Linked DNA regions of Homo sapiens: regions 1, 3, 4, 5, 6 and 7 are each linked to region 2. The links are contacts of gene promoters, found by promoter capture Hi-C in blood cells and fetal thymus (Javierre and others, 2016). All regions are on one chromosome and are shown on one strand. The core of a region is centred on a gene start or on the middle of the fragment in contact, and the rest is flanking DNA. Distances in the headings are between cores, read along the strand shown. Region 1 holds the start of ZNF24 (zinc finger protein 24). Region 2 holds the start of PIK3C3 (phosphatidylinositol 3-kinase catalytic subunit type 3). Region 3 holds the start of SLC39A6 (solute carrier family 39 member 6). Region 4 overlaps TPGS2 (tubulin polyglutamylase complex subunit 2). Region 5 holds the start of RMP24 (ribonuclease MRP subunit p24). Region 6 holds the start of ZSCAN30 (zinc finger and SCAN domain containing 30). Region 7 holds the start of ZNF397 (zinc finger protein 397).

Region 1 (3,298 bases), core at 539-3,038, 6.6 Mb before region 2:
CTACAGTATTCAGTACAGCAACATGCCGTACCGGTTTGTAGCCTAGGCGCAATAGGCTATACCAGATAGCCTAAGTGTGTAGTAGGCTACGCCATTTAGGTTTGTGCAAGTACATTCTATGACGTTCACACAAGGATGAAATAGCCTAACATATTTCTCAGACCATAGCACTATCGTTGAGTTATGCATGACCTTATTTACTATATGGCCGCTTACAGAAAAAGTTTGCCAATCATGACCTACTAAGACGACAAACCCTATGTCAATAATCAAAAGAATCCAAGTAAGAACCAGACTACTTCAGTGCTTTCTAAATGTGCCTGACCCTGGAACGCATTATTTCCAATTCAGGATTGGTGTTTCCTGACACACACAAGTCAACTCAAAAGGAAGGTTCGCTTTATTATTATGTGCTTAAAAAAATTTTCTTTACCATTTAAAAAATATTTTTAAGGTGTTTAAGAACTCCTTGGACTTATATGTGAAAAAATGTTCACTTGCTGAGTAGCAGATCACATAATATTGAAAAGATCATATGTGAAAAACATCACATAATTTTGAAAAATTATCTTGCACATAATACGTAAATATTCAGTCTTCCACCACACCATACGTACATTTATATTTATAATGATAGGCATTAATCACAGAAACTTCTATTAAGAAAAGGCACTCGCATAAGCACCTTGACTTCCTGCAGTGGTCCAGTGTCTTGTCCTTACACTGGAGGACTCACAGTTTCCCCAGCTTCTACCTTCAGTGAAACTGTATACTGCTTCTGGACCTTTATTATTTGCACGATCATGCCCGTGCTGTTGTTTACGACACATACTAGCAATGAGCCATTCAGCCTATTTATTTATTCAGGGCCCAAAATCTGAACAATAACAACTTAAAAAAACTTATTGTAACCCAAGCAAGATGAAGACTAGAATCAGAAAAGGCCTTATCAGACAAGTAATACATACTGGTTTAATTAAATACCCTGGAGTGTGGTGGCCTTATACATAAGGTCTAGCCAACATTCATTCGTTCCTATTCCAAGACCCTGCTTATCAACGGTGCAAGTATTTCTACATAATTTTCTCTTCCTTTTATGCTGTAGAGCATACCGCTTGTGGGAAATGGAGGGAAGGCCCACGGTCCCGACAATGTTTGGGCAGGGTACCTCGTCCCAGGTGGATCGCCCACCTTACTGCTGCATAGACCTGCTGTGTATCCCGGCCCCGGCCCCGGCCCCGGCCCGACGTCCTCTAGCCCCTCTTCCCAGCACTCAGGACCGCGGATTTCAGATGACCAAAGGCCACCCTGTGACAACAGCGTCGGAACCACGGCACTTCCGCCTGCGGCCGGTGAGACTACAAATCCCAGAAGCCCCGCGCAAGTCTCGTCCCACTACCACCCCCTCCCATCACGACTCCCAGAACCCTCCGCGAGACGCCAGGGCCTCGAAATAGAACAAAACCGGCCGGTGGGGGAGGGGGAAGGTGAGGGTCTCGGAGGACACAGGGGGTTAGAGAGCTCTCTGCAAATGCCGAAGACCCAAGCAGGCCTGCCGCCTACCCCTCCCCGCCCCACAACTGCTAGGCGCGGAGACCGCGGCCTGTTCCCCGCGCCTCCCGGGAAGCTGAGGAAGGTCCCGGACAGGCTTCCCCGCCGGCTCCTGCTAAGAGGTCCGCAGACCCTAGCCCGGTGTCCCCCCTCCCTCTCATAACGTTCCCCGCACACCGGCGCAAACCTCCGGCTCAGGAACCGCAGCAGCTTCGCTGTCCACGGCAGACGCAGAAACGCCGTTCACAAGCCTTTTCCCAGAAGCCCCCGGCGCGGGCTGCTTCCGGTCTGCGGGCCTGAGGAGGCGGGGAGAGGTAAAGCCCACGTTGCCATGGAGAAGCGCCCCGGGCGGGGGAGGGGCGGCCCCACGACAATGACCGCATTGAGGCTGCGCTTGGCCTCGCGCCTCTCCTCGAACAGCCCAGCGTCCTCTGGACCGTTTAAAAGAAAACATAAAGAGGACTCTACCATTAAGATAGTCCTTACAATTTCGCAAGCCCTTTCACGTGCATTATCTTGTGGATCCTCTCAGTAATCCCCTGCAAGAAGGAATGAAAGTGAGTGTTTGTGAAAGCTTACTACATTGTGCCAGGCGCTCTCGTCGTGCTTTACATGTCATTTTTTTTTCCACAAATAAATGATGTAGGAACTTTCATTATCCCCATTTCACAGCTGAGATAGTTGAGGCACAAATACAGTAAATAACCTGACAAGAGCTCACAACTCATTTGTGGGTAGCAAGATTTGAAACCAAGACGTGATTCAAATCTTTGGCTCCCACTAGTTATGTCATGGAGCTTTATTCCGACCTATTTATCTGTCAGGAAAACTAGATAAGACAGGTTAAGAGTTTTGGCAGTGATGTCACGGTGAATTTGTAGAATGCATGGTCATCTTAAAGCTGGGCATTTTATACCATAAAACAACTGCTGACGCGATCATTTAAAATTACAAATCAGACCACTTCACTCCCCTATTTAAAGCCCTCCAATTTATGTCATAATAATTTATGACATAAAAACTCCTTATAATGGCCTGTAAGTCCCCTGTGGTCTGTTGCCTGCCCGCACCCCCAGACCCTGGCGCCCCCAGTCACCTCAGCTCCTCGGCTCATTGTGGCCCAAGATCCTCAGCCTCACCACCTGCCTTTCATGGCGCATGACCCTTCATGGCACTGTTATTAATGGAAGTGATCTCATTTATTTACTTGTTTTATTTTTTGTTTTGTTTTGTCTTTAAGTCCCTTAAGGGCAGGGACCTTGTCTGTCTTGCTCACCACAGTATCCCATCCTAGATCCTGGAAGCTGACTGCCTGGTAAATAGAGAACTCAATAAATATTTGTTGAATAAATAAATGAATTGTGGGATGGTTACATTGCTGCCTTTAGCTAGGTCACATGATTGGCATCAGACACCACACAAAGGAGCCCTGTTGTTTAAGGACTGGTCAAAAGTGTAGATCCAGCCTAACATAAGCATTTCAAGATCCTCAGGCTTTGACTTTTTGCCTCATTGGAGAAAATGCCCTCTGAAAAGTGCCGTCAGGCTCCGCTGGATTCGTGCATGAGAGAGCAAGTGAGCGAGCAGCTGATGGTATACCACTGCTTTTCATTCCGACCAGAGCTCTTCTCACAACCCCTGCTAACACTTCTCTCCATTGCAGGAAGCTTCAGAAGTACAGCCTTTTCACTCTGCTACTTGGATACGGCCCCTAAGCAACTTGGCTGCTCTTCCCAACCTTTCCCTC
Region 2 (2,909 bases), core at 268-2,767:
GTCCGTCTTAAAATGCAGCACTTAGAAATAAAGACATAGGCTGGGCGAGGTGGCTCACGCCTGTAATCCCAGCACTTTGGGAGGCCGAGGAGGGCGGATCACGAGGTCAGGAAATCGAGACCATCCTGGCTAACACGGTGAAACCCTGACTCTACTAAAAAATACAAAAAATTAGCCGCGCGTGACGGCGGGCACCTGAAGTCCCAGCTACTTGGGGGGCTGAGGCAGGAGAATGGCATGAACCTGGGAGGTGAAGCTTGCAGTGAGCCGAGATCGCGCCACTGCACTCCAGCCTGGGCAACAGAGAGACGGGCACTCCAGCCTGGGCAACAGAGCGACTCTGTCTCAAAAAAAAAAAAAAAAAAAAAAAAAGAAATGACATAGCAGTTTGGGAGGCCAGGGCAGGCAGATCACTGGAGGTTAGGAGTTTGAGACCCGACTGGCCAACATGGTGAAACCCCATCTCTATTAAAAATACAAAAATTAGCCTGACTGGGTGGCGGGTGCCTGTAATCCCAGCTACTTGGGAGGCTGATGCAGGAGAATCGCTTGAACCCAGGAGATGGAGGTTGCAGTGAGCCGAGATGGTGCCAGCCTGGGCGACAATAGCAAAACTCCATCTCAAAAAAAAAAAAAAAAAAGAAATAAAGGCATAGAAAATGGAGACTTTCATTCAATATCATCATTAATAACCAGTAAGTAGGAAGTATTAAACTCAGCAATGCATTAGACAGCTAGCGGGGCAAGACACGGAAGTAAATGGCACACTGGTCTTACCTTCCAAGAGTTTTCAATCTAATTGGAAGGGAGTATTACAATTTTAGATTATAATAATTATAAAAACAAACATTATAGGAGCTCAGAGGGTTTAGAGATCTGTGTTCTGTAGTTATTACAGGAGGCCTCTAGATTCTAACTTGGGTTAGGGCTTGAAACTACATTGAATTTGAATATTCCCAGTTTAAACATGCACGCAAGTATTATGTCCAAAGTAGCATGAATACTGACAACACCAAACATGAAACCCAGATTTATTTATTCTCTATTTAGTCCTTTCCCTACTCTTTAGAGCAGAAAGAGAAAATCCTTGCTTGAGATAGCAAATTAGTGCTACACTTTTTGGGAAGGCCACTGGAATTTAAACCTGGCAAAATTCCAATTTTTGTGCTTGTAACCTGTTTAGCCGGCAGCCAGTGAAAGCTGTTATAATTCTTTTTGAATTGAATTTTCTTTCGTATTGTTTTAGGTACAGCTCAAGCTCAAATGATAGCGTCTCTTTTTCTTTAAAAAAAAAAAAAAGTGCTGTCAAGACAGGAAAACTGGAATGTAACCAGATTAGCCGTTTCCCGTATACATTTGCCCTTAAGCAAGATGGTGGGCGCCTTGTGCACATGCGCGGAAGGGTTGTTTCGGCGGGGAGTTCCGCCGCGTCGGAACTCGCTCCGGGCGTGGATTGGCGGCTTGCTGGCGGGGGCGGAACCGGAAGTTCCGTGTTGTGGGGCTCAGCTGGTTCATTTATGTTGTTTTTCCTGTACCTAAGTTCCCGCTGTAGGTGGTACCTTTGCAGACGGTGCGATGGGGGAAGCAGAGAAGTTTCACTACATCTATAGTTGTGACCTGGATATCAACGTCCAGCTTAAGATGTAAGAGAACACTCGGGACAGGGAGTGGGATTGCTGGGGCGTAGGGACGTGGGGGCAGGGGCCTGTTGGGAGTGAGAGGCAGAAAGTACGTGACTCGTCTCAAGGCCCAGATTGGGGGCGGCTGTGAGGGCTGTAGCCAGGGAGGCGCGAGAGAGTGGATCGTGGAGAGGGGCTCTTTTGGAAAAGGATTTAATACGTGGTCTCCGTGAGAAGCACAGCAGTAGGAATAGCCCTTAAGTTCCGCTGTATTTTACAGTCTTTAAAGTTTTTGCTGTTCAGCCTTTTGAGAGTTTATTACTATTTCATTGTAAATTAAGAAATCAAGTCTCGTCGTAAGTAAGAGGACGATCTTTATTTTGGAACGGGGCTTGTAGGGTGGAATGAAGGCTTCAGAAATTATGGAGAGGTAGACACAGGCAGATGCGATAGTTGAGAATAAGATGAGCACATGGTGTATTAGCACGGGAGGTGATAGAGGCCTAGAGTGAATCTTTGGGTAGTATGGCAGTGTTTAGTCAGGGAAGTTGGGAGTAAGTCGAAGATGAGGGTTCCAGTTTCAAAGGTACCAAGAAGATAGGAGAAAAGAGTCTTTGCAGGAAAACGTTGGGGCACCACGGCTGAAGTAAAGGTCAAGGGCGTGATATCTTGAGATGAGGATAATAGAACTGGTATAATGACGAGGGATGCACAAGACAGAGTTGGAAATTATGTCCCTTTTAAGGTGGTCATGTAGGAGTGTTGTCAAAGCTATCACAAATTATTGACCATAGCATCATCCATAATTAATAAACATTTCTTGTGTATGTTCAATTAATATTCAACAAATATGTGTCGGTCAAAGGCCTGCAGTAAGTGATAGATAAATTTTCTCAGTTGTCTGATGTACCTTTGAATGATCATTTCATTTTATTTTCAGAAGTCCCTTATTCGCTGACAAATACTTTACTTTTTAGTTTGTGGTGGTGGTGGTAAAAGTAATATGTCAACAACCACCTTGTACCTTTGTATGATACTTTATACACTCATTTAAGGTATTTTCCATAGCATACACCACTAGTAGTTTATACAGGATCAATATTGATAAAGGGCTTTCCTTCAGCTTGATGCTCAGTATTTCTTGGATATATGAATGCATTTTTTGAAATGTTTGAACATTAAAAATAAAGAAAAAGCCAAAAAAACCGGTCCCTTTTTTTTTTTTTTTTTTTTTTGGAGACAGGGTCTCACTCTGTCTCCTTTCCCTTTGGGATGACGTTCTGCTTCTTT
Region 3 (2,888 bases), core at 389-2,888, 5.8 Mb before region 2:
TCAATTTTGCCAGTGTATCCCTCAGGATATTTTCTATGCATACTCAAATACATGTATACTTAATTTTTTTTTTAAAGTTTTTTTTTTTTTTTTCTAGAGACGAGGTCTCACTATGTTGTCCGGGTTGGTCTTGAACTCCTGGCCTCAAGAGATCCTCCACCTCCAATTCCCAAAGTGCTGGGATTACAGGCGTGACCACTACGCCCAGCCTCAAATAAGTGTATACTTTAAATACACATTGAATCTTTTTTCCGACTTGACAATGAATCAGACACATTATGTCCATACATAGAATTCTTAAAGTAAACTGAACTTCATGAAAAACTCACTGTAGCATCCTTGTGTTACTACAAACCAGTCAACATTTAATCACAGGCTGTTAATCATCCACAGTAGTGTTTGGAACCAAAGGCCTGTGCCCCAAAGAGGAGGAAGCAATTGAGTTGGAGCTTGAAAAGCAGAATTCAGTTAAGCAGAGCCAGAATTCAGTTAATTCAGATCCAGCAGGATGTCCAGCACCAACGGTGGAGGTGATGGTGGTCAAACTCACATCTCCAGCAAAAGACGCAGACGTCAAGTTTACAACTAAGCAAGAGCATGGGGCTATCCAGCTCTACCACGGTCAGCTGTTCTTTGGACAGGGCTCTCGCATTCATTACCTTATCTAAAATACCGGTAAAACCTATTTTGCAAGGCGAAGGAGGAAAACACATGAAGGAATGTATATTACAAGTACTCGTTAAACTCATGTGTTGCACAAGTGCGAGGTATCATACAGGGAACAGTGGGAAATGGAGGTACGGCGTAGAACGAGGCTCCTGAAAGAGGAATCTTTGGGGCTTGAAGTTTCGGGAATTCTTTTACTAGGTAAAAGATAAACATTTAGAAATCATTCCCAGGAGAGAGGCGAGGAGCGGGGTGGGAGGGGACTAGCACAGGGGACAGCTCCGAGCCTTTCTCCAGGGAGGATGCTGAGCGCGGTCGTGGACCCGTTGAAGGATCTCCTTTCCTGCAAGTTGGTGTGTGCTGGAGGAAAAAGGAAAGCAGAAGGGAAGGGCCTTAGAGAAAAAGGCGAGTACAGAAAACGGAAAAGAGGGCACAAAGCTCTCTTCTAAAAGCTTTTTATTTCTAAACACGTCAGTCCCTTCTTCGAATATGGGATGAAAAGTACGGATCTTTTCCTCAAAAAATCCTCCGTTGCACCCCGAAGCCCATCTGAGCACCTTAAGAAGTCCGGCTCTCTAGGGTGAGTGGGCGCCTGCGGCGGGCTCCCCCCAGCATCCTCTTTCTGTAGCCCCCCTGCCCGGTCCGCAGGATCCGGTTCTCCGCAGAACCACCCCTACCCCGCCACGCCTGTCTGGCCTGAGGAGCTCCCCTCCCAGCCGCCCTGCTCCCGGACCTGAAAGACTCACGTCTCCGCGGCCTCGTTGTCCCACGGCCCGGCCACGCGCGCAGGTTTGGTTCCACACGGGCGGTCCAGAGGGCTCGGAACGGGCCCACTGGTGTCTTCGAGAAATCTCTACCAGGCGCGAACACGCGGTGGTTTCATTGGGTTGGCTGCCCCTCGGTCCGGGGGCAGCGCCGCGCAGCCACCCGGCAGCCGCGCCCCTAGCCTTCGCGAAGCTGGAAGACAATCACTAATTACCGCCGCGCGCAGCGCCGCGGGGAACCACCGCCCCCTTCGCCCAGGACTGCAGGGCATGCGCAGTGCGACCCCGGAACCCGGCTCCGCAGACGGATCCGCTTTTCCGTGTGTTCGCCGACGCCGCGGGGGCGTGGCGCGGCCCTAGCGCATTGTAAGCAGTTGGGGGTCATTTCCTCGAGGCCCTACTCGCTAGCCAGCGCCCCCGGGGCCAGCCCTGGCTGCTGCTGGGAGCCGGGTCGTAAGGGGCAGCGAGATGTTTCTGACGCTGCCCCAGGCACATGAGCCCCGGGTCCTTCGGGAGGGTCCCGAGCCACTCGGGTCGGATTTCGCTCTTGAGACAAAGGCCTGGCTCGTTCGCGGAGCGGGGCCACGGTCCAAGAGCAGAGCTAGCAAAGCGGCGGCCTTGCACAGGGGTTCCAGCCTGCGGTGGGAACGGAGAGTCTCAGGGGGGCGGGGCTGCCTCCGTCTGGCCCTCGGCTGGCTGCGAAACGTGGACTGGGTGATGCCTCAGGAGAAACCACCCTAGTAGTTCCGCTCCGAGGGCGGAAGTGCGCGTCTCTTGTTTGTGCGGCTGACCAGTTGGCGACATGGTGGCACCCGTGCTGGAGACTTCTCACGTGTTTTGCTGCCCAAACCGGGTGCGGGGAGTCCTGAACTGGAGCTCTGGGCCCAGAGGACTTCTGGCCTTTGGCACGTCCTGCTCCGTGGTGCTCTATGACCCCCTGGTAAGAGAGGTCGCTGGACGGCCGACCCTTGTGCTTTTCGGGTTGAACCTGTGGACGTGCTCCGGGCGCGCTGTTAGTTGCCGCCCCAGACCTAGGAGGCGAGTCGGGTCGGCTCAGGGGAGCGGGGTTTGGGCTCGGAGTCTCCAGTGGACCTGCCGGACTCGCTCCTCACCCCTCACCCTTTGCCGTCTCACGCGTGGCGTCATCCTAGGGTCATTGCTGCCCATGAGCTGCTAGTAACCTGTTAGTCCCACGCAGAAACCCGAATGATAAGCATCTTACCTGAAGCCTTCCTTGGGAACTGTAGTACCGTTAATCAATTTGGGTTTTAAAACAATTGAAATTTATATGTAGATTAAAACCATCATCCCACAGGTGCAATCTCATTTCAGTATTTCCTTCAGTTTTGGTTAATGAACTTTTGTTGTATTGAATTTCAAGGAAATGTTACCTGTGTTTTAGCTACGGGAATGGACATTTTAGAGAAAGTGTCAGTTTGGGGGAAAGGTCATAGGGGA
Region 4 (3,311 bases), core at 638-3,137, 5.1 Mb before region 2:
ACAGGATCCTCCCACCCCAGCCTCCCCAATAGCTGGGAGGACAGGTGTGTGCTACCATACCTGGCTAATTAACATTATTGTTTTGTAGAGCTGGAGTATTGCCATGTTGTCCAGGCTTGTCTTGAACTCCTGGCCTCAAGCAATCCTCTGCCCTGGCCTTCCAAAACACTGAGATTACAAGCATGAGCCACTGTGCCGGCCAAATTCTTTAAACTCTTTCAGCCTCTGTTTCTTCATCTATAAAATGGAGATACCAATACCCACCTTGCAGGGTTATTATTCATTTAGTATGGAATGACTTATGGGGTAAGTGTTAGCAGGTATTTATTAAATGGTAGGGCAATTTGTTGCCACTTGCCCCAGTCAAATCCATTTGTTACTCTACAGCCACAGTGGTCCTTTCAAGTATAAATCTAACTTCAAAGTTCCCTACTTAAAACATTTCAATGACTCCCCTTTGCTTCCAGGATAAGGAGTAAACTGCTGAAGACCTATGAAGCCCTAAATGTCCTGGTCCTTGCTGAGCTCTCTCTACCTTGCTCTCCTGTGCTCCTTCTTTGTGATCTCAGAACAATGTAATCCTTCCCATCTTGAAGCTTTCATAGAGGCTGAAAGTCCCATCTTCCTAGATCCCATCTACCTGGTTAACAATTTCTTATTGCTTCTTTGGGAAAACTTTTCTCAACCTCTAGACTAGGGCAGGTCTCCAGACAATGCTCCCTTTACCTCTCTTTCACAGTACTCAGGCCAGTTAGTAATTACATTCATAACAATCTATACTATGTCTTAGGCAGTAAGATCAAGAGGCAAAAACAGTGCCTTTTAAAAAATTACCATTTAATCTGGGAGACAGAGCAAGACTCTGTCTCAAAAAAAAAAAAAAAATATTACCATTTAATCCCCAGGGCTCAACACCAAGCACAATGTCTGGCCCACTGTAGAAGCTTAAAACTTTTATTGAATAAACGAATTGAAGTTCAGAGGAAAGTTGGAAAGCATTAGCTTTTAATCTGCTTAGTAGTTATGTGCAACACTTAATCATGTTCTGGACAGCATGACACTTATTAACACATATCCTTTCTTTTCCTTAATTGATTTTTAGCTTTGTTGTACACAACTTTGAATGTCCACTGCTTCTGTAGGAGAGTGGGGCTCAGGGGAAACACTCCATGCTGGGTAAGTGGCATAGAATGAAAGGAACTGTTAAGTGGGCTGAACAGGAACATAGAAAAGGTAAACTCTACCTTGAAAGCAGCTGTGGTCTGAGTAAATATTCTTCCTCCCCTAATCTTTCCTTCTCAGGGACATTTACACTGACCTCTCTTTGATGGGAGGTAGAGTTCATGTGGCAACACTTACTTGTTCCCAGGAAGAAATCATATGACGTTCAGCAGGAGGCTTTTCTATGATGGTCACCTCAGTCACACCTGGGGAAGATTCTGGAAGAGAAAAAAGAGTCTGTAGAGTTGCAATTGGTCCGCTGTCATACATTTCTACGCTAGTTGTTGACTAACTGTTGATGACTGCTCTTAAGAACATCCAATCCTTCTCATGAACACTTATTACCCCTGTAATGAAAGCAGAGAACTGGTTGGCCTCTGAAAGGCATGGTCCCATAACCTAGGACAATGTAGTCTACCTGATAGAAAGGATATCCACAGACTGTGCTCTATACTGTCATTGCTCAGTCATTAATCTTATTGAACAAAAAACAGAGATTGTAGATTCCTAATGATTTCACACAGAAATTCTCAGTGAGCTAAATCTATATACTCAGGATAAAGTGAAAAGAAATAAAGAATAGCAACCCATTAACTTTTATAAGACATAAAACTTGCTTATTAACTTTTCTTCTAAATAAAACTCATCTTGAACATAACCTTCTACTCTGTGAGGTCTAGGATTTCAAAGCTGGGTTAACATAAAAAATGGATTCCATCCAAAAATATACTAAGAAAAAAGTTAAGTCATATTTCTAAATCCTTGAAGCGGGAAAAGGTCTCCAAATAATCTGGTCTGCTTCTCTTTGTGGAGCTGTGTTCTATCATTCACTCTGAGGGAGAGCAGAAGCCACCTGGGAATACTACAGAGTTCAATACCTCCTCCAACATTCTCCACTTGTCTGTGGCCATGCAGACTCAAGATTCTGAAGTCCTTAATCCAAGACTTAAAATTTGTCATAAAAGCTGTTATGACTTGAATTCTGTCCCCACCCCCACAAAAATAGATATTGAAGTCCTAACCCCCAGTACCTCAGAATATGACCTTATTTGGGAATAGAGTTACTGCAGACATAATTAGTTTAGATGAGGTCATACTGAAGTAGAGTAGATCCCTAGTCCAATGATTGGTGCCCTCCTCATAAAAAGAACAACATGTAGCCAGGTATGGCAGTGCATACATGTTGTCCCCACTACTTGGGAGGCTGACACAGGAGGGTAGCTTCAGTTTTTAAAATCTCTAGGAATATGGCAGAAACTTCTAATCATTTTATGTGGTTCACTGATCCTATAATTAAGCCAGTGTCCTTTTTATGCATTATAAAATTTCCTCCAAGTTGCCAGAAACTCAAATCTTGGGATGCAGCAATAGCCCAATATAGGAACTAAGAATTCTAGACTCTACCTATTCTAGTCTTGCTTTATACATTTACTAGTTGTATGACCTTAGATGGGTCTTCACTTCCCTTTACCTTCAGTAAGTAAAAATAGACCTTGGGTTTGAAAGAGGACACATACAATTATTTACTGTTTATAACAGGCCTCCATGGAAGGGTTATAGGTTCAGACAAAACTACTGTGATGCTACTGCAGATGTGGTCATGTCATACTTAAGCTTGGAATACTCCCATGGCAAGGTAATTGGCCAACATGTTGACTTTAATAACTTTCAGATAGTAAGTTGCTTAGGAAGTATCCATTGTAGAGACTCCTATATCCGACACAGTACTTCAGAATTGGTGAGGAGGTGGTGTTGGGGATATGGAAGAGAAGGGCATGCAATAAATTCCATTTGTATAATTCTCTGTTACAGGAAATGGGCATAAATTATCCTATTTAATCTTTCAACAATCTTGTAAAGCAGGTATCCTTACCCTCGTTTTAAGGATAAGGAAACCGAGGTTCAAAGATGTTAAGTAATTCATAAAATGAAATCTCTGACCAAAGCTGTGGACACCAAACCTAATGCTGTTTTTATCATGTTGTCTTAGTAGCCTATCATTTTGGTGAGATAACTAAAAACATTTTGCGGATGTTTGGAAAGCAATAGAAATTATACATTGTTCTTGGCCTATCAAGATGCCATATATG
Region 5 (3,116 bases), core at 50-2,549, 6.0 Mb before region 2:
ACCTTACAACTTATCAACAAAAAGACAACTCCAATAAAAAATGAGCAAAGAACTTAAACAGCCAAAGATACATAAATTGCCAACAAGCACATGAAAAGCTGCTCAAAAGCATCAGTAGTCAGGGAAATGTTAATCAAAACCACAATGAGATGCTACATCATACTCACTAGGAAGGCTAGATTTAAAAAAAAAAGAAAAAGAAAAGCAAATGTTGGTGAGGATACGGAGAAACTGGAACCCTCATTAAGCACAGAATTACTACATAACCCAGCAGATCTACTCTTAGGTATTATACCCCGAAGAACAGAAAAAAGGCACTCAAACAAATGCATGTACACACATGTTCACAGCGGCATTCATTCATAACAGCCAAAAAGTAGAAACAATTCAAACGTTCAACTGATGAATGGATAAACCATTGTGATACCGCCATACAATGGAATATTATTCAGCCATAACAACGAATGAAGTACTGATACGTGCTGCAAGGTGGATGAACCTGATACATTATGCTAGGTGAAGGAAGCCAGACACAAAAGGTCGTGTGTATGATTCCATTTACATGAAATGCCCAGAATAGGTAAATCCATAGAGACAGAAAGCGGACTGGTGGTTGCCAAGGCCTGGGAGGGAGAGGAGGATTGGCCGTAAGTGCTTCATGGAGTTGGCTGTCCTTCGGCGAAATATTTTGGAAATAGCAGAATGGTGCTTGCACAACATTGTAAATTTACTAAACGCCACTGAATTGTTCACCTTAAAATGGTCAATATTACGTTATGTGAATTTCACTTTAATTACAAAAAGAGAAACGCTAGCGTTTACGCAGGCGGAGGGCAGGCTGGACTGGGGACGCTCCTCCCGGCCGCCTCGTTGCTGGCAGCGCTTCCGCCCGCCGGCGCACCAGTCAGTACCGCGCCCGGCGAATGTGGAGGGCGAAGCTGCGGCAGGGCAATCACAAAAGGGCTGTCAGAGAGGAGGCGAGGCGGGAGGAAGATGGAGAGGCGGGTGGGAGCCTCACCTTTGGACTCTATCGCCACAGCCCGGTCTAGCCGCTACGCCCGAGCTCAAGTCTGACTCGAAACTCCGCTGGGTGCCTGAGAGGACCCGGCAGGCCAAGGGGTGGAACTGAGGGGGCGGGGACGCGGCGGGCGGGTGGGGCCGCCTCCCGGCTGGGCACGCCTCCAAGCCAGACTGGACGCGAAGGAAACCGGAACCTGTCTGCCTACGGTGCCTGTTTCCGGAAGCAGCTTGAGTCCGGACACCAACGACGGGGACGCTGGGAAGCCGACTTCCGGCGCCCTATTTTCTCACCTGGTTCCCGCGGCGAGCCAGCGGCAGCGGCGGCGGCGATGAGACAGAAGCACTACCTTGAGGCTGCAGCGCGGGGACTGCACGACAGCTGCCCGGGCCAAGCCCGCTACCTCCTGTAAGAGGACTGGAGGGGAAGCGGGAGGCGAGCGGGTAGGTGTTCCTTTGCTCCTCACAAGTCTCTTTCTCTTTTACAGCTGGGCCTACACTTCGTCGCACGGTAAGAAGAACGCCTGTCTCTTGTGCTTTGGGCTCTTGTCGCCCCGCTTTCCTCTGTTCCGCACAACGCTCAAATAAGGCCGATGGACTCACTTCCCTCCATAAAAACAACAACAACAAAGCCCGCATGTGTCTCGGTTTCGTGAAAAATCCAAATTCTTTAATGTGCCTTGTCTTGCTTTGTTAGCGGCATTTGACACATTGATCAGTCTTGAAATAGTTTCCTCCCTTGGCTTCTAGGTCATTACGTAGTTCACCTCTTCATTTATTACTTCTCGATTTGCTTTGCTGGTTCCTCCTAATCTCCCCAAGCTTTAAGTATTGTCGTGGCCCAGTACTCAGCCCTTGGACCTCTTTTCTAGGCACACTCGCTTCCTTGGTGACAGTTTTTCATCCAATCTCATGGCTTTTAAATACCATATACTGAGGACTTACAAATGTATATACTCAGCGCAGACCTCTCCTCTGAATTCTAGACTCATATATCCGAATGTCTTCTTGACAAATTCTTTTCAATGTCTAGTAATTCAAACTTAGCTAATATGTCCAAAACCTGAGCTTTAACCCCCAACAAGATCCTCCAGTTTTTCTCATTTCAGTAAATAATTCCATTCTTCCCTTACAGTTATTGAGCCCAAAAACCTTGGAGCTATTCTTGACTCCCTAACTCTCTCTCCTCCCCCAGGCCAGTATGCGAGCAAATCCTGTTGGCTTTAAAATGTAGCCAAAATCAGCCAGGAGCGGTGGCTCACCCCTGTAATCCCAGCACTTTGAGATGCAGAGGCGGGCGGATCATTTGAGGCCAGGAGTTCGAGACCAACCTGGCCAACATGGCGAAACGCTGTCTCTACTAAAAATACAAAAAAATTACCTGGCATGGTGGTGCACGCCTGTAATCCCAGCTACTCGAGAGGGTGAGGCATGAGAATCTCTTGAACCCGGGAGGTGGAGGTTGCAGTGAGCGGAGATGGCGCCATTGCACTCCACTCCTCACCACATCCATTGCTACTACCCTGCTCCAGGCCATCACCAGCTCTCTCCTGGATTAATAAAAGTGAAAGTCCTTTAAAAGGATTGTAAGGCCCTGTGTCATAGACCTGCATACCTCTCTGACGTACTCTTTCCTTCACGCAACTCCAGTCACACTAGGTCTCCTTGCTTTTCTGTTTCAGGGCCTTTGCAGGTACTCTTCACTCTGCCTGGGATTCTTGCCTCACATATCTGCTTTCATGTGAATCCTCCATTTCCCTCTGGTCTCTATAATATCACTCAATGAAGCTTTCCCTAGCCACCTATTTAAAATTACAGTAACTCCATCAATACTTCTATTCCCCCCTCCTATCTTACTTTTTTATTCCCAGCACTTAACATTTGACGTTGTTATATTTATTGTATGCCTCGGTGAATTGTCCTTTGTTCACTGCTGTGTCTCCAGCACTTAGAACAGTGCCTGGCATTCTTAATTGTCACTTAGTGAATATGAATGAGTTTCACATTTGGCAGAGCTAAGTTTAAGTGTGGTCTTTAGCTTTATAAGTGCTGTTGCATCCCTGGCACTTAGCACAGTGCTCAACAGTAGATACTATTCA
Region 6 (3,309 bases), core at 103-2,602, 6.7 Mb before region 2:
CTGTATTCATTTAACAAGCCTTATCAAATTATATCCTTTAAATATTTGCTGTTTATGTCAGTTATACCTCAATAAAGCTGTTTTGTTTTGTTTTGTTTTGTTTTGTTTTGAGACAAAGTCTCGCTTTGTCACCCAGGCTGGAGTGCAGTGGCGCAATCTCGGCTCACTGCAACCTCCGCCTCCTGGGTTCATGGGTTCACGCGATTCTCCTGACTCGGCCTCCCAAGTAGCTGGGATTAAAGGCGCACACCACCATGCCCAGCTAATTTTTGTATTTGTAGTAGAGACAGGGTTTCACCTTGTTGGCCAGGCTGGTCTCCAACTCCTGATCTCAGGTGATCCACCTGCCTCAACCTCCCAAAGTTTTAGGATTACAGGCCTAAGCTGCGCCTGGCCAAAAAGAAAGCTGTTTTTTTAAAACTATCTGCACTCCCTACTTGGGAGGGTTGGACTCAAGTTCCCACATCTCTTTCCTCTTACGGTTATATTAAGGGCTTAGTCATACATCCCTAAATTTCATATATCCCAACAGGGACTTGGGCTGGGACAGGAAGCCCTCTTCCTCCACCTCAACTACCACTTAGCCACCCACCATTTTCTCAAACCTCTTCCTTTCCCCACCGGACAGCTTAAACCAAGTCACACGTCTCATTGGTCTCAACAGAAATGAGGTCCCAACTCCTCATTTCCCAAGATATTTCCATGAACACAGCAATATCCTTTCCTACCCTGATTACCCCGCACCCTCCATTTCGGGTCCTTCTCACCCTGATCAGTGAGAATTGTTCTAGCAAGCAAACCTTAAATAGACCTCGTACCCTTTCTAGATTGCAAAGTAGATAAAAATCCAACTTTCCGTTAATTCAGGGATTAATTACTGAGCATCACTTATTTCTTGGGCAGTGGTTCTCAAAATGTGGTCCCAGGACCAACAGCTTCAGGATCACCTGAGAACCTGGGCTGCCACCGCCCCCTCCCCCACTACTAAATCAGCAACTCCGGAGTTGTGGGGCAGAAGTCAGTATTTTAACAAGGCCTCCAGGTGATTCTGATGCGCGCTACTCTTCTGGGGGTGTGAAAAACCAGAGAGGACAGGAAGAAAGTTAGAATTAAAGCATACCTACGAATCAGATAAGCGATAGGGGGAGGGGTGGTTATTTAAAAAACGATAACTAATTAAGAACTTGTATGTAGTAAGAAAACCTACCCTGCCCCAGAGAGCTTTCCCGAAAGATAATGGATTCCGACATTCACCTCAAGAACCGGCAGACAGAGCAGCAAAGGATCTGTCGCTGGCCAAGCAGGTCCCTGGCTAAGGCACTGCTAGGGACAGCTCGCGGCGGTTCGGGGGTTAATTCTCGGCAGCCCTCCGTCACCCGGTGCCCCACCCCCGCCCTGCGCCTGCGCGGTGAAGCGCCATAGAGCTGAGCACTCCTCCCAGATTCCTAGAGCGGACAGGGCGATGGCAGGTTCGCCGGGTGTGAGGCTTCACAGCGGTCCGGTGACCAAGTCGAGGTAAGGGTGATGTCGGCTCGCGGATAGCAGAGGAGTTCCGGGTGATCTTGCCTAACGAGCAGGAAACTGTGCATGGTTTCTCGAGTCCTTGGAGAGTGAAGGCCCCCGGGGTCGCTCCCGGGCACGGAGAGACGATTGGTTCACGGCCTAGTGTTCGGTTTGTTCCCAGTCAGCCCTTGCTGGCCTTGGGTTCAACCGAATGAACGCCAGAAACTCTGTGGGGTGGGGGGAGTCACCAACCGTGGTGCATCCATACGAATCAGCCTACCGTACTGGGAAAGAGCCACCTGAATTTGTGAATGTTGTAAAAGCAAAAGGAAGAAAAATGATCAGTAGTGTCATTTTTGGATAGGAAGGGCAGCGAATAACATAGTGTTAACCACTAGAATTCACTGTAAAATTCCCCTCTCTGCGTTATCTTTCCAGTTATACCTTTTTTTGGTAGCATTAACCCCTAATTTTGTTTGAACATCTCTAGACTTGGAATGGGGAATGTGTGTCTTAAGTGGGTTAATCCCTGGCTCTTGGATGATGGGGAGGAAGCCTAATACATTCTGAGAGAAAAGCAACTGGAAGTCAAATGAGATTTTTTGTTTTCTCCTTCTTTTATATCTTGAGGATTTTTCTGGTGGTCTAGTCTCAGAGATTACATCTGTAGTCAGCACAATGATTCCCTTCCAAGCCCAGTGGTGCCCAGTTGCCTCCAGGTCCCAGACCTTTATGTGGACAAGAAAAGCTTACAGAGGAAATGGTAATTCTCCACTTGCACACTGAGGTGTCCAGTTGCAGCCCATGGAGATCCAGTTCAATTATGAATCTCAGGAACACCACCTTCTGTCAGGTGAGAGGCAGGGTATTATATCTTTCTTAGTGGCTTTGGCGGGGTGGGGAGGATGAGGGGGTGTCACTCTATGCTAGTGTCTTCAAATGATCCCCCTTAACTCTGTTAGGCAGTATTACCTCTTTAGTGTACCAAGCATAGTCACATGACTTTATTTCAAAATCTGGCGATCAAATTCTCATGCAGCTCTCTCCACTTTTTTAAGACCCCAAAGTCATTCATTTTTCCCTGTATAATGACCTCATTGCTAATCTGTCAGTTTTGGTCATTTTTCTTATCTACTGTAGGGGCATAGTTAAAAGTTCTGGAGTCTGACAACCTAGATTCAAACAGTAGTTTTGTCACTTAACTGGCTCCAGTAAGTTACTCATATATTTTACGATTCTGTTTCCTCACTTTTCAAGTGCATAGTACTTCATACCTTGAAGTTATTTTGAGATTTGTATCTATGTATTACTCCAGAATAAAGAACCCCAAAATTTAGTGACCTAAAACATCAGACTTCTTAAACCACATTATTTCTTATGATTCTGTAGGTCATCAACTTGAGCTGGGTTCACCTGGGCATTTTTTTTTCTCTTGGTCTTTTCTGGGGTCATTTTGCAGTCATCTCAAGGCTGACTCTACTGGGGCCAGGGTCTAAGATGGTTTCAATCACGTTGTCTCAATGTCAAACTGTTAGTGCCGGCTATGGCTTGAGTCCTCATGTCTTCAGCAGGTGACGCTGGACTTTTTCACAGGACAGCTTGTTTCCAGTCAGAGAAGGCAAGCTCTTTTCATACCTATGTTTGTGTTTCATCTGTTAATGTGTTTCATCTGTTAATGTCTCATTGATGAAAGCAGGTCATATGACCAGTTCTAAAGTCATTATAGAAGGAAACTACACAGGGATATGGGTACTGGGAGATAGGATTCACTGGGGTACACTAATACTATAACAGGCCAGGTGCAGT
Region 7 (3,226 bases), core at 429-2,928, 6.7 Mb before region 2:
AGCCAGTCACCATGTAAGAAAGCTTAGGCTAAACTCCTGAATGGAGAGAGGCCTTGTGGAGAAGAATCAAGTAACTTCAACCAAGAGGCAACACCAAGACTTCAGCAATTTGAGTGAAGCCATCTTGGACCTTCCACCCCAGTTAAGTGAAGATAGCTGACACATCATAAAGCAGACTAGCCATCTCCGCTAAGCCCTTCCTGAATTCCTGGCAACAGAACTGTGAGCAATAAAACATCTGCTGTTTTTAGTCACTAAGTCTTGAAGTGGTTCATTATGAAGCAATTGATAATTTATAAACAAATTAATATTATTTGGTTTTTTGCTTTGTAAAATTGCTGTAGTCATTTCACAATGATAAAATTATTTAGTGAGTCACTAATAGCTTTGAATGCTAACGAACATTTTTCTCAAATATGTGTTTTAAGTCTTGGCTCACAAAGGAGAATTTGTTTCTATGTATGTATGTATCGCTTTGTTATTATCCTGTGTACTTTTTTAATATAACATTTTAAAAATATGTAACATTTAAACATGTAAAATGTAACGTTTTAAAAATAAATACAAATAAATGGGAAACGATTTGCAACAAACGAGTTGCTATCCTTAATAAGCAAAAAATTCTCACAAATAAAAAAGAAAAATCTTACTCCCTTAATTTTTTAAATGGGAAAAGCCATCTCTGAAGAACCATAAATGGTCAGTAAACATGAAGGGGGACTATCTTAAGCTCACAAAGTTGAAACATGAGGCATCATTTTTCACCGACTAAATAGCCAAAGAAAAATTTAAACAGTGAGACAATACCAGCAAGCTTCCACTGAAGAACGGGAAGACCCTAAGATAGGCTCCAGGAGTCTACGATACCAGTCTCCTTGAACTATGGGGACGTGGACGTCCCTGGTCACAAGTTGCCTGACTTTGGGCGATGTCTACGGCTGTAAATTTGGGATTATATAGCCACAGCACAGAACTGTTGTAAGGCTCCAGTGATACTCATAGGCAAAAGCAATATAAGTGACTGTTAGTTTTTGTTCAGCCTATTCATCCTTACATTTACTTTTGTCGGAAAAGAACTGGAATCACAGGAAAATCTGAGGTTTTTTTTTTTTTTTTTTTTTTGAGACAGAGTCTCGCTCTGTCGCCCAGGCTGGAGTGCAGCACATCTCAGTTCACTGCAAGCTCCGCCTCCCGGGTTCACGCCATTCTCCTGCCTCAGCCTCCCGAGTAGCTGGAACTACAGGCGCCCGCCAACATGCCCAGCTAAATTTTTGTATTTTTAGTAGAGACGGGGTTTCACCGTGTTAGCCAGGATGGTCTCTATCTCCTGACCTCGTGATCCGCCCGCCTCGGCCACCGCGCCCGGCCGAAAATCTGAATATTTTAATGGAAAACTGGGAGTGAGATTCGGGAATTACTTGAGACCAACAATGATGGGTGGTGCCAGGAGAAAGCCAGGGTGGGAACGGCCCAGGCGAGATGCGGGACCCTCCAGGTGCCGCCGCTCACAAGGACCCCTGACTCCTAGCGCACCCTCCCCTGGCCTTGGAGATTCCGCCGGGCTAGCGGCTACCGGGAGAAGGCGGTGGAAACTGTAGAGCCCGCGGCTCTGATTGGCTACCTCAGAGCAAGGGGCGGGGCGGCGGAGGACCCGAAGGGCGCGAGAGCGGAACACTGCGTACGCGCACTTCCGGTCTTTGTGGCTTGCAGCTCGGGGTGGGTGGCTCATTTCCTGGCCGCTCCTGGGCTTCGCGGTGAGGGACGTGGGCCCCTAGGAAGAGGGAGGTGGGGTTGGGAGCGCGCGCCGGACAGTGGAGGAGCTCCGCTCCTCGGCCTGCCCATCCCCAGGTCGCGGCCCTTTGGCCCGCGCGGCGTCTCCAAGCGACTGGGGAACTCAGAGGAGGCCAGCACTCAAACTCCTGCTTTCCAAAGGAAAACGCAGTTCCGCTGACCCCGTGACTTCGTAAATGCTGCGGTTTAACCAAGGATATAAAAATAGAAGGGCTAGTTAGTTAGTTAGTTAGTGCGGCCGGACTGGTTAAACCTTAAATTTGTAGGCTAAATATTTTAATTCATCTCTTAACGTTAACCGTAGTGTGAGGAATGAATTTTACTCATCTGTCCTGACAAACTAAGGGCATACATTCCTATCGATATCTCGCCATCCTAAAAGCAGGTCAAGTTTGGTCTGTGTCACAACATTTAATACCTATTTGTTACCATATTTTGCTTTTGAACATTTTTAGTCTTGGGATATTCTAAGCTTTTTCAGAACTGATACGGATCTCTTTGCTGCTTTTGTGTATGTGATACCTATCATGTTTTTGAACACATGGTAAGCATTTTACAGATACGTCTTGGTTCTTGGTCAATTCCTCTGTAGACTCGTTTATTCATAAGCAAAAATCTTAATGCTCAGTAAGTGCCTCAGTGTTTGTTGAAGTAATTCGGTAAACACCAAATGCGATCAAATGACAAATATCCAATATTTACATCAACTCATGTTTAATGTGAACTTTTAAAAAAACGTTATTACTGCCTTAAATGAAAATCAACATTACTTGCTTTAGATAGAAAGTAAGTAAAAATAAATGTTTAAAATCAGTATTACTAAATTCTGCCTAAATATTTTTACTCTTGGAAGTCTGATTCTGAAGCCTGTATTTTATTTAAAAGAGAGTTCTACAAGTTTTATTAATACATACATGTTAAAGATAGACTTTTCTCCTTGATACAATCAGAATTGAAAGAATTGGAAAGGAAATTTTCTCACTATGTGATTGATGTTAATGTTGCATTCACATTCTTAGGCTTCTAAAATAGTTTTTTCTAACATTAGTGGTAGGAATTCTTCATAATGGGAGACACTAATTGAGGTTAATGATTTTTAGTTTATCATCACATTATTGTTTTATTTAGTGATAGCCCCAAATCTACTCCCTTTCAATATATTACTAAAGTTACTCATCTTTCTTATTACAAGTACTTAGAGATTTTATTGATTGCTGTAAGTTAACTGCTTTTATATCCTTCAGGAAAGAAGAGATTACTCACACTCCTTCGCAAGCACAGAACCAGTTGTACTGAGCTTTTTGCTAAGCTGTTTCAGCCAAGAATGGCTGTGGAATCTGGAGTGATTTCAACCCTGATACCTCAGGATCCTCCGGAACAAGAACTAATACTAGTGAAAGTAGAAGATAACTTTTCCTGGGATGAGAAATTTAAG

What was found. The method cuts DNA at HindIII sites, captures the fragments that hold promoters and counts their contacts. A CHiCAGO score of 5 or more calls a contact.
Region 1: the fragment with the promoter of ZNF24 here is called in contact with the fragment with the promoter of PIK3C3 in region 2 in 1 of 17 cell types (total CD4 T cells); the score reaches 6.4 in total CD4 T cells.
Region 3: a contact is called between the fragment with the promoter of SLC39A6 here and the fragment with the promoter of PIK3C3 in region 2, in 8 of 17 cell types (non-activated CD4 T cells, fetal thymus, total CD4 T cells and 5 more). The highest score is 21.1, in non-activated CD4 T cells.
Region 4: a contact is called between a fragment that was not itself captured here and the fragment with the promoter of PIK3C3 in region 2, in 2 of 17 cell types (total CD8 T cells and total CD4 T cells). The highest score is 7.2, in total CD8 T cells.
Region 5: a contact is called between the fragment with the promoter of RMP24 here and the fragment with the promoter of PIK3C3 in region 2, in 8 of 17 cell types (non-activated CD4 T cells, total CD4 T cells, naive CD8 T cells and 5 more). The highest score is 46.3, in non-activated CD4 T cells.
Region 6: a contact is called between the fragment with the promoter of ZSCAN30 here and the fragment with the promoter of PIK3C3 in region 2, in 1 of 17 cell types (total CD4 T cells). The highest score is 6.4, in total CD4 T cells.
Region 7: the fragment with the promoter of ZNF397 here is called in contact with the fragment with the promoter of PIK3C3 in region 2 in 6 of 17 cell types (non-activated CD4 T cells, activated CD4 T cells, naive CD4 T cells and 3 more); the score reaches 19.0 in non-activated CD4 T cells.

What each region holds. Positions count from the first base shown.
Region 1 is chr18:35,342,632-35,345,929 of GRCh38, forward strand. It overlaps ZNF24 (zinc finger protein 24), which reads right to left and starts at 1,789. Exons shown (of 4, transcript NM_006965.4): 1 at 1,729-1,789. LOC124904283 (a long non-coding RNA gene) reads left to right here and starts at 1,423. Exons shown (of 2, transcript XR_007066337.1): 1 at 1,423-2,108. RefSeq lists an enhancer at 1,107-1,166 and a silencer at 1,847-2,016. The HindIII fragment of the contact is 2,541 bases long and covers 1-2,123 here.
Region 2 is chr18:41,953,717-41,956,625 of GRCh38, forward strand. It overlaps PIK3C3 (phosphatidylinositol 3-kinase catalytic subunit type 3), which reads left to right and starts at 1,518. Exons shown (of 25, transcript NM_002647.4): 1 at 1,518-1,643. The coding sequence starts at 1,576. RefSeq lists an enhancer at 1,296-1,475. The HindIII fragment of the contact is 3,603 bases long and covers 255-2,909 here.
Region 3 is chr18:36,127,702-36,130,589 of GRCh38, forward strand. It overlaps SLC39A6 (solute carrier family 39 member 6), which reads right to left and starts at 1,639. Exons shown (of 10, transcript NM_012319.4): 1 at 1,413-1,639. ELP2 (elongator acetyltransferase complex subunit 2) reads left to right here and starts at 2,198. Exons shown (of 22, transcript NM_018255.4): 1 at 2,198-2,370. The coding sequence starts at 2,233. RefSeq lists enhancers at 1,437-1,942, 1,565-1,859, 1,890-2,079, 1,943-2,448, 2,240-2,449. The HindIII fragment of the contact is 4,684 bases long and covers 1,117-2,888 here.
Region 4 is chr18:36,817,535-36,820,845 of GRCh38, forward strand. It overlaps TPGS2 (tubulin polyglutamylase complex subunit 2), which reads right to left. Exons shown (of 7, transcript NM_015476.4): 2 at 1,360-1,439. Among named protein-coding and RNA genes, the nearest start is that of TPGS2, 9.8 kb to the right of the region's middle. The HindIII fragment of the contact is 1,891 bases long and covers 943-2,833 here.
Region 5 is chr18:35,971,380-35,974,495 of GRCh38, forward strand. It overlaps RMP24 (ribonuclease MRP subunit p24), which reads left to right and starts at 1,300. Exons shown (of 5, transcript NM_031446.5): 1 at 1,300-1,426; 2 at 1,506-1,528. The coding sequence starts at 1,350. LOC105372066 (a long non-coding RNA gene) reads right to left here and starts at 1,072. Exons shown (of 4, transcript NR_188032.1): 1 at 1,019-1,072. RefSeq lists silencers at 787-1,081, 1,021-1,170 and an enhancer at 1,090-1,982. The HindIII fragment of the contact is 7,007 bases long and covers 1-1,837 here.
Region 6 is chr18:35,288,877-35,292,185 of GRCh38, forward strand. ZSCAN30 (zinc finger and SCAN domain containing 30) reads right to left here and starts at 1,353. Exons shown (of 4, transcript NM_001112734.4): 1 at 1,208-1,353. It also overlaps the pseudogene ZNF271P. RefSeq lists an enhancer at 1,470-1,629. The HindIII fragment of the contact is 2,453 bases long and covers 1-2,249 here.
Region 7 is chr18:35,239,356-35,242,581 of GRCh38, forward strand. ZNF397 (zinc finger protein 397) reads left to right here and starts at 1,679. Exons shown (of 4, transcript NM_001135178.3): 1 at 1,679-1,754; 2 at 3,036-3,226. The coding sequence starts at 3,116. RefSeq lists enhancers at 1,361-1,470, 1,416-1,941 and a silencer at 1,731-1,860. The HindIII fragment of the contact is 1,449 bases long and covers 813-2,261 here.